Regions from separate parts of the Homo sapiens genome. Here region 1 is linked to region 2. Evidence: promoter capture Hi-C in 16 types of primary human blood cells and fetal thymus (Javierre and others, 2016). All regions are on one chromosome and are shown on one strand. The core of a region is centred on a gene start or on the middle of the fragment in contact, and the rest is flanking DNA. Distances in the headings are between cores, read along the strand shown.

Region 1 (3,379 bases), core at 349-2,848, 59 kb before region 2:
GTGGGCAATGTGTCGGCTGCATGCACGAGCCAGGAACTGCGCAGCCTCTTCGAGCGCCGCGGACGCGTCATCGAGTGTGACGTGGTGAAAGGTAACGCGGAGGCGCGCTCGGGGGCGGGGGCGCGCTCGGGGCACTCTGCCTGTTAGCCACGCCCCTTACCCGGGGGTCGGTCACTGCGCGGTTGGGAGGGGTGGGGAAGTGCGCGGGAGCAGGTCGGAGGTGTTGGGGGCGCGTTGGGTAGAGCCACCCTCCTCCCCTGCGGTCCAGGAACCGTCCACCAAGTAGGAGGAAGCGGCTCTGGGTGGGTGCGGCGGCCACTGCGAGCCAAGCTACGGGGCCGGGGACGCGCCTGAGAGCCTTGCGAGTGTTCCGGGGGCGCGCCTTCTCCTGGTCTCCTGGGCCTGGCACCCAGCGGAAATTGGGAAGTGACGGGCACAAGCCGGATCATGAAGCGGGGAAGATTTCTCCACTTCCCCACTTCCTCTCCAGACGTCGGTCAGAGCAAGGGAAGAGGGAAAAGGTGGGGGCTGACGCCCCAAGGCCGCCCTCCTGTTCCCTCCCGATGAATGTGCTCAAGCGGAAGGTAACGGGGCCCTTGGACGTTTCTCGGGCTGGGGTCTTTTAGTCTTGTCTGGCATGGGTCTACTCATGGGCACAGTTACACGTGGGTACGAGAGGGGCCCCTTCCGAATCACTTTGGCCTTTCAATATTAGGTAGGTTAGGCGTGGCAGCTCTGTGCTTTTCTCCTCCCTCAAACTTGGGGTTTTTCTTTGGGCTCGATTTTACATCTGTCAACTGGAAACCCCAGCCTTTTGCATGTGCAAGAAAGCTTGTTTTATGAAGTCCCCTTCTGCGTAGTCTTTACATGCCAAGCCAGTGCCCTAGGGCAGTGTCATTCTTTTATAAGCTTGGTGACTTTGCAGGGGGGCATACTCTGGCTGAGGGGGTCCTGGGGAGGGGTCTGTGAGAGCTCTTCATTAAACAGTGGCTAAACACGGTTTACTGAATCAGTAGTAGTCATTGCTTGAGTAGTCTGATTCTCAGGGCAGATCCCGGTGCCTTTTCTTCGAGAAAAATGTGTCACCATAATTTAAGCCTGACTAGGGACCCAGTTGACTTTTTCATAGCTTGAGTTTTTATCCCTTAAGCTCTTTATCTTTTACATTGGCAAGATTTGGTGGGACAGCCGTTGTGTATGTGGCCAGTCTCTGCTCCACTTGGGAACAGATCAGAGTTAACTTTGCCCTGTCATTTTGGAAGATGCAGCCTGGGAGTATCTGATGCCCTACTCCTGGTGGGTTCATACCTGCTCATACCCTGTGTGAGAAGTTTCAGGGATAGGAAATAAATGTGGGTGCAAGTGCTTATTTATCCCACCAAGATATTTCATTTGCTGTCCTGGAAAGGCACATGTTTGGGGCCATTCCTAGTCCTTTAAGTGGGGGAAATATAAAGGGTCATAGTGTCCACTACTAGGAACAAGTCCTTGTTCTGCATTAATACTGCATTCTATTTTCCTCAACTCAGGTTATACAAGTCCACGACTATCCGGAATCGGGCTTTCCTGCTGGGTGCTCTGAGGCAGGCTGTATGGTGCATGGATTTTTGCTTTTGTTTAGAGTAAAAGAGTGGTGGGGGAGGGTCTCAGATTGGGTACTTGTCCAGCAAAAGGGTGGGGTATATGAGTCTCATTTGTGAGAGTTTTGTGTTTAATTGACTTACCAAGTTTCTTTTGTGGTTGTTAGGTAGAGTGGCTACTAGGTTGAGAGTCTAGAGTCAAACATCTGAAGGGACAGTCTCCCTGGAACTCAGGCTTCTTGCTGGCTTTCAGGTGGTAGAGAAAGTCAAAAATTTGCCTGAAATTTGCTTGGGACCCAACACCAAGTGACGATGCGGGTGAAGTGCATAACTGCACATGAATTTTTAGAACTCCTGGCTGACTCCTTGTGAGAGTTAGACGGAGTTTTGTGCATCTTGTTCCTTTGTAAACATTTGATTAGCAAAAATGCATTGACTTACTCCGGGAGTGGTGGTCAACTATTTGCAGTTACATTGTTGTGTAACAGAGCTCCTGACATACTTCGATGTAAGAGACTGGGAAAGATTTGAACATCATATCCTCCACTGATGTCTTTTTATCTGTTTGTGATGACGGAAAGTGAGGGTTGAAAGTTGGGAGTGTAGTAGAAGCGACTGGCTCTCTAAAGAGCGTACTCATTTCTTATGCTGGGAATGGTCATTTGATTGAGTCTCCTTGTGTTGGCTGACAGGGCTTTGAAAAGCACAGAAGCTTGGTGTTGCACCAGACAACCAGCTCTGTTTTATTTCACAGGAAAAAAAAACAACATAGTTGCTTGGTTACTCCAGGAGCTTAGATAGGATTTGTAGAACAGAAATCTCAATAGCAACAGTGGATTGTAACCACTCCACAGCTTCCTCCTATTGGGTGTTCAAAGATGAACAGCTTCCGGAAACATGTACAGACTTGTGGGGAGATCTGAAAGACAAAAGAGGAAAATATCTTCTCTTCATTTTTGTGAGTGACTGTTTCTTCTTCCTATACAGAGCTCTGTAGTTTCAAGTTTAAGATTTTTTCTTTTTCTTTTTTTTTTTTTTTAGACGGAGTCTGGCTCTGTCGCCCAGGCTGGAGTGCACTGGCGCCATCTCGGCTCACTGCAAGCTCCGCCTCCTGGGTTCACGCCATTCTCCTGCCTCAGCCTCCCGAGTAGCTGGGACTACAGGCGCCCGCCACCACACCCAGCTAATTTTTTGTATTTTTAGTAGAGACGGGGTTTCACTGTGTTAGCCAGGATGGTCTCGATCTCCTGACCTTGTGATCCGCCTGCCTCAGCCTCCCAAAGTGCTGGGATTACAGGCGCAAGCCACCGCGCCTAGCCCTCAAGTTTAAGATTTTTAGTCTTAAGATAGGAGAACTTGTTTTTCTGGATTCACTTAACTTTGTTACTGGAGGACTTGTGATGCCACCAGACCATTTGGAGATCTCTGTAAAACATTACTTGATAGTCCCAATGCAGTGATTTCCTTCAGAGTTTCCTTGAATTAGATCTGTGGGCAAGAAGGTTCCTGGAATTTTTCAGATCTCTGGTTTTAATGGTCTTAGGAGTACTTGGGTGTTAGGGCATCTTTAATCTAGCTAGGTCTGTGCTTTGCACTTACTGTGATGGGGCTTATCACTACAGGATGCAGTTGAGTTAGCTGGGCAACCTATTCACACTTTTCCCCTCCAGTGTCAGGCTTAGAAACTTCCTGATACAATTTGGTTATAATTGTATCAGATGGATTTTTAAATTTTGTATTTATTTTTATGTTATTTATATATTTATTATTTTTTTTTATGAGACAGAGTCTCATTCTGT
Region 2 (3,132 bases), core at 438-2,937:
TAGGGCTTCCTCTAGATGTCTTTTTTCTTCTTTCCCACCAGTATCCACCCAAAGCAGTAAAGAATATAAATCTTAAGCACTTAAACCCTCAAATATAAGGCTTCCTGATCATCACCAAAGAAGCAGGTAAGCCACGGACCTTTATCCTCCCTTCTCTCATGAGGTACTCGTTTCCCCAAGCAGATTACACTTCCAACAGCACTCGAATCAATGCAAGAATCCCGCAGGGTAAAGTAACCCACAGTTTGTGATTCTATGCAGTCGGTGAGCAACATCTTAGCAAACCTGAAAAGGGGAAGTGTTTGCTTCCCCAGGGGTAAATTATGCTTAAGAGCGGTAAACATAATCTATTATTTCCAGCTAAAACAGAATGGAAGAGACCACCCAGCAAGTTCTATAGTCTTGTGTTCTTGCCTGTTTTGAGCTAGACCCCACTCGGCGCTACTACCCAGGCCCAGAGCAGTTCACCTTGAAACTCTGTGTTGTCAAGGCCCCTGATGGCCTCCACTGCATCCTCTGCCCGCTCCATGTGTACGAAGGCATAATCTTTCACGATGTCACATTCGATGACCGGACCATACTCCTCAAACTTGGCTCGAAGCTCTTGGTTGGTACAAGTGGGGCTGATGTTACCCACGTGTAACTTGGTTGAAGCTTTGCTCTTATTCTTGCTGGCTTCCACGTTGATGTTCACCCCATGAAGCTTGTAATGGTGCAGGTTGCGTATGGCATCCTCAGCTGCCGTCTTGTCTTCTATGTGCACAAAGCCGTAATTCTTAATGATGTCACATTCCAGCACCTTCCCATACTGCTCGAAGAGTGAGCGAATCTCCTGCTCTGTAGCCTCCCGGGGAAGGTTTCCGATGAACAGCTTCACCATCCTGACAAGAGCCTGGGAGAGAAACACAAGACTTCAAAAGTCAGGGGTGTGGTGGGAAATTTCGGTGCACTGCAGCATTTTCGTCTAATCCTCCAAAGTTCTTGCACCTTCAAGACCCTCGTACAGACATTCATTATTCTTCCTCAATAGAAGAAGGGCGGTTTGTTCTCGAGAAGTGCGAGCTATGCGTGACATGCAAACAGGAGGTCGAGGGTCAGCATGCATAGCCCAGTCTATCATCTCCGTGAAGTGGAGCGCAATGAAATACCAGAATTAGCTGCTTCATGTCTTAAAATGAGGGAAGAGAAAAGCCCAAGCAAAGGCAAGGGGCATCAATCGCAGTGCGCCTGGTAACAAGGTTTTGGAGGGAAATCTGTGTACCTCTCCTGCGCGCACTAGCGCCTTTCAAGATACTCTAAAAAGAAAAAAGTCCCCTTTCCCCCAAACCGGGGACCAACCACCTCGCCCCCAGCGGCCCACCCTCCAGCTTCTTCGCCCCAACAAAGACTCGACCCGACCCCTGCCCCGCCTCCTTCCGGAGACCCGGCCCCGCCTCCTCCCGTTGTCTTCCCAGACCTCCCGCTGCAAAATGAGAAACCCAAATCCGGGCCGTGCAGTCTGCCGGAGGCCCGGCCCGACCCGCCCCCGAGCTCCCCACATCACACACACACGACCCCCTCGCACCTCCGGGTGGCGGCAGCGACGGCGGCTCCCACGTCAGAGAGAACCTTACAAAATGGCGACGGCCGCTCGAGCCTGGACGCGACCGGGCCCTTTCTCGCGCGCCAGCTCACGCACGCGCGAGTGCGCGCTGCTTCCCTCCCCTTCCCCTCGCGGGAGCCGAGTGACCAATCCCGAGGCTGCATACAAATGACCACGCAGCACGGGGGCGGGGCCTGTTGGTGGTGGCGCGGCGCCGCGGAGGTCAGCCCACCCCCAGCCCCAGCCAGCCAGTCACCACCCTGGAAAGGGTCGCCACTGCTGCGTCAGAGGGGCTCTGAACGCAACCACTGCCTAGAAAAGCGGAGGCCTTGGGGAGTCGCTCACCACAATGGGTCCTGCTCTTGGGCCCTTTGAGGGGGGCGGGGAGCTAATGACAGAGGAATCTCCCCGAGGGCCCTAAAAAGGGGCTTTTGTAGCGGGCTGGCCGGCTTCTGTGGCAGCTTGGGGCAACATTTCAAAAATACAGGTGCGCCACATTTTAAGCAAAACTAGTCATTGTTTTGTAGCGCTTTAAACATTATTTTAAAGTTTGTCATTGCAGAGGTGTTATTTATTGCTACGGAAACTGAGAACCAAGGGGCAGAAAGATAACCTGGCAGAACTGGGACAGGCCTAAGAGGCATTGCTACCCAGGCTACGCTTAGTCATGTTTTGTTTGCTCGTGAGTATCCGTGGTCTGATTCTCTCTCACTCATTGTGTGTCCATCACAGTCCTGGTCTGTGGTGAGCACGCCAGAGGAATACTTGGTGGAGAGGCCCAGCGAGGTCCCTAGTTCTGGGTGGGACAGGGTCTCCTCGTACACACCAAGCTGGAAGTCTAGGCAACTGAGTTTCCCGACTGTCTAGCATTCAAAATTCAGCTGTGGTCCAAGGGCACCTCCTGGCGGTAAAAACAAGCTTAGGCGTGCCAGGTGCGGCGGCTCACGCCTATAATCCCAGCACTTTGGGAGGCCAAGGCGGGCGGATCACGAGTTCAGGAGTTCGACACCAGCTTGGCCAACATGGTGAAACCCCGTGTCTACTAAAAATACAAAAAATAGCCCGGCGTGGTGGCGGGCGCCTGTAATCCCAACTACTCGGGAGGCTGAGGCAGGAGAATCGTTGGAACCCGGGAGGCGGAGGTTGCAGTGAGCCGAGATGGCGTCACTGCACTCCAGCCTGGGTGACAGAGCAAGACTCGGTCTCAAAAAAAAAAAAAAAAGAAGTTTAGGCTGATTCCCCACTGTCACCTTCCAGCAAAGAGTAGCCTTTTATGGAGATTGATGGATTGGGTTTATCTCCTAGTAGAGCCCGCCAGGGAGGTTGTCAGCCACCATTCCTCATTTTAGTGGCTCCATAATGGCTTCTCTGATACCATCTGGGACACATTCCCCAGGCTGCCCTCTTCCACCCCAGCTACTTGGATATGTTCTTTACCTGAGTTCTTTTTGTTTCTCAGCCATTTCAGAAGAGGCACTGTCCTTCCAATTTTATTTTATTTTTATTTTTTGTTTAATTTTTTAAAGACAGAGTCTCACTGTGTCGCCCAG

What was found. Contacts are between HindIII fragments. The CHiCAGO score rates a contact against its expected background, and 5 or more counts as called.
Region 1: a contact is called between a fragment that was not itself captured here and the fragment with the promoter of RBM4B in region 2, in 4 of 17 cell types (naive CD4 T cells, total B cells, total CD8 T cells and 1 more). The highest score is 6.9, in naive CD4 T cells.

What each region holds. Positions count from the first base shown.
Region 1 is chr11:66,616,967-66,620,345 of GRCh38, forward strand. RBM14-RBM4 (RBM14-RBM4 readthrough) reads left to right here. Exons shown (of 2, transcript NM_001198846.2): 1 at 1-91. It overlaps RBM14 (RNA binding motif protein 14), which reads left to right. Exons shown (of 3, transcript NM_006328.4): 1 at 1-91. Among named protein-coding and RNA genes, the nearest start is that of RBM14-RBM4, 2.0 kb to the left of the region's middle. RefSeq lists an enhancer at 1-547. The HindIII fragment of the contact is 1,383 bases long and covers 908-2,290 here.
Region 2 is chr11:66,676,200-66,679,331 of GRCh38, forward strand. RBM4B (RNA binding motif protein 4B) reads right to left here and starts at 1,688. Exons shown (of 4, transcript NM_031492.4): 1 at 1,565-1,688; 2 at 469-892. The coding sequence starts at 880. RefSeq lists silencers at 1,301-1,410, 1,611-1,890. The HindIII fragment of the contact is 1,797 bases long and covers 702-2,498 here.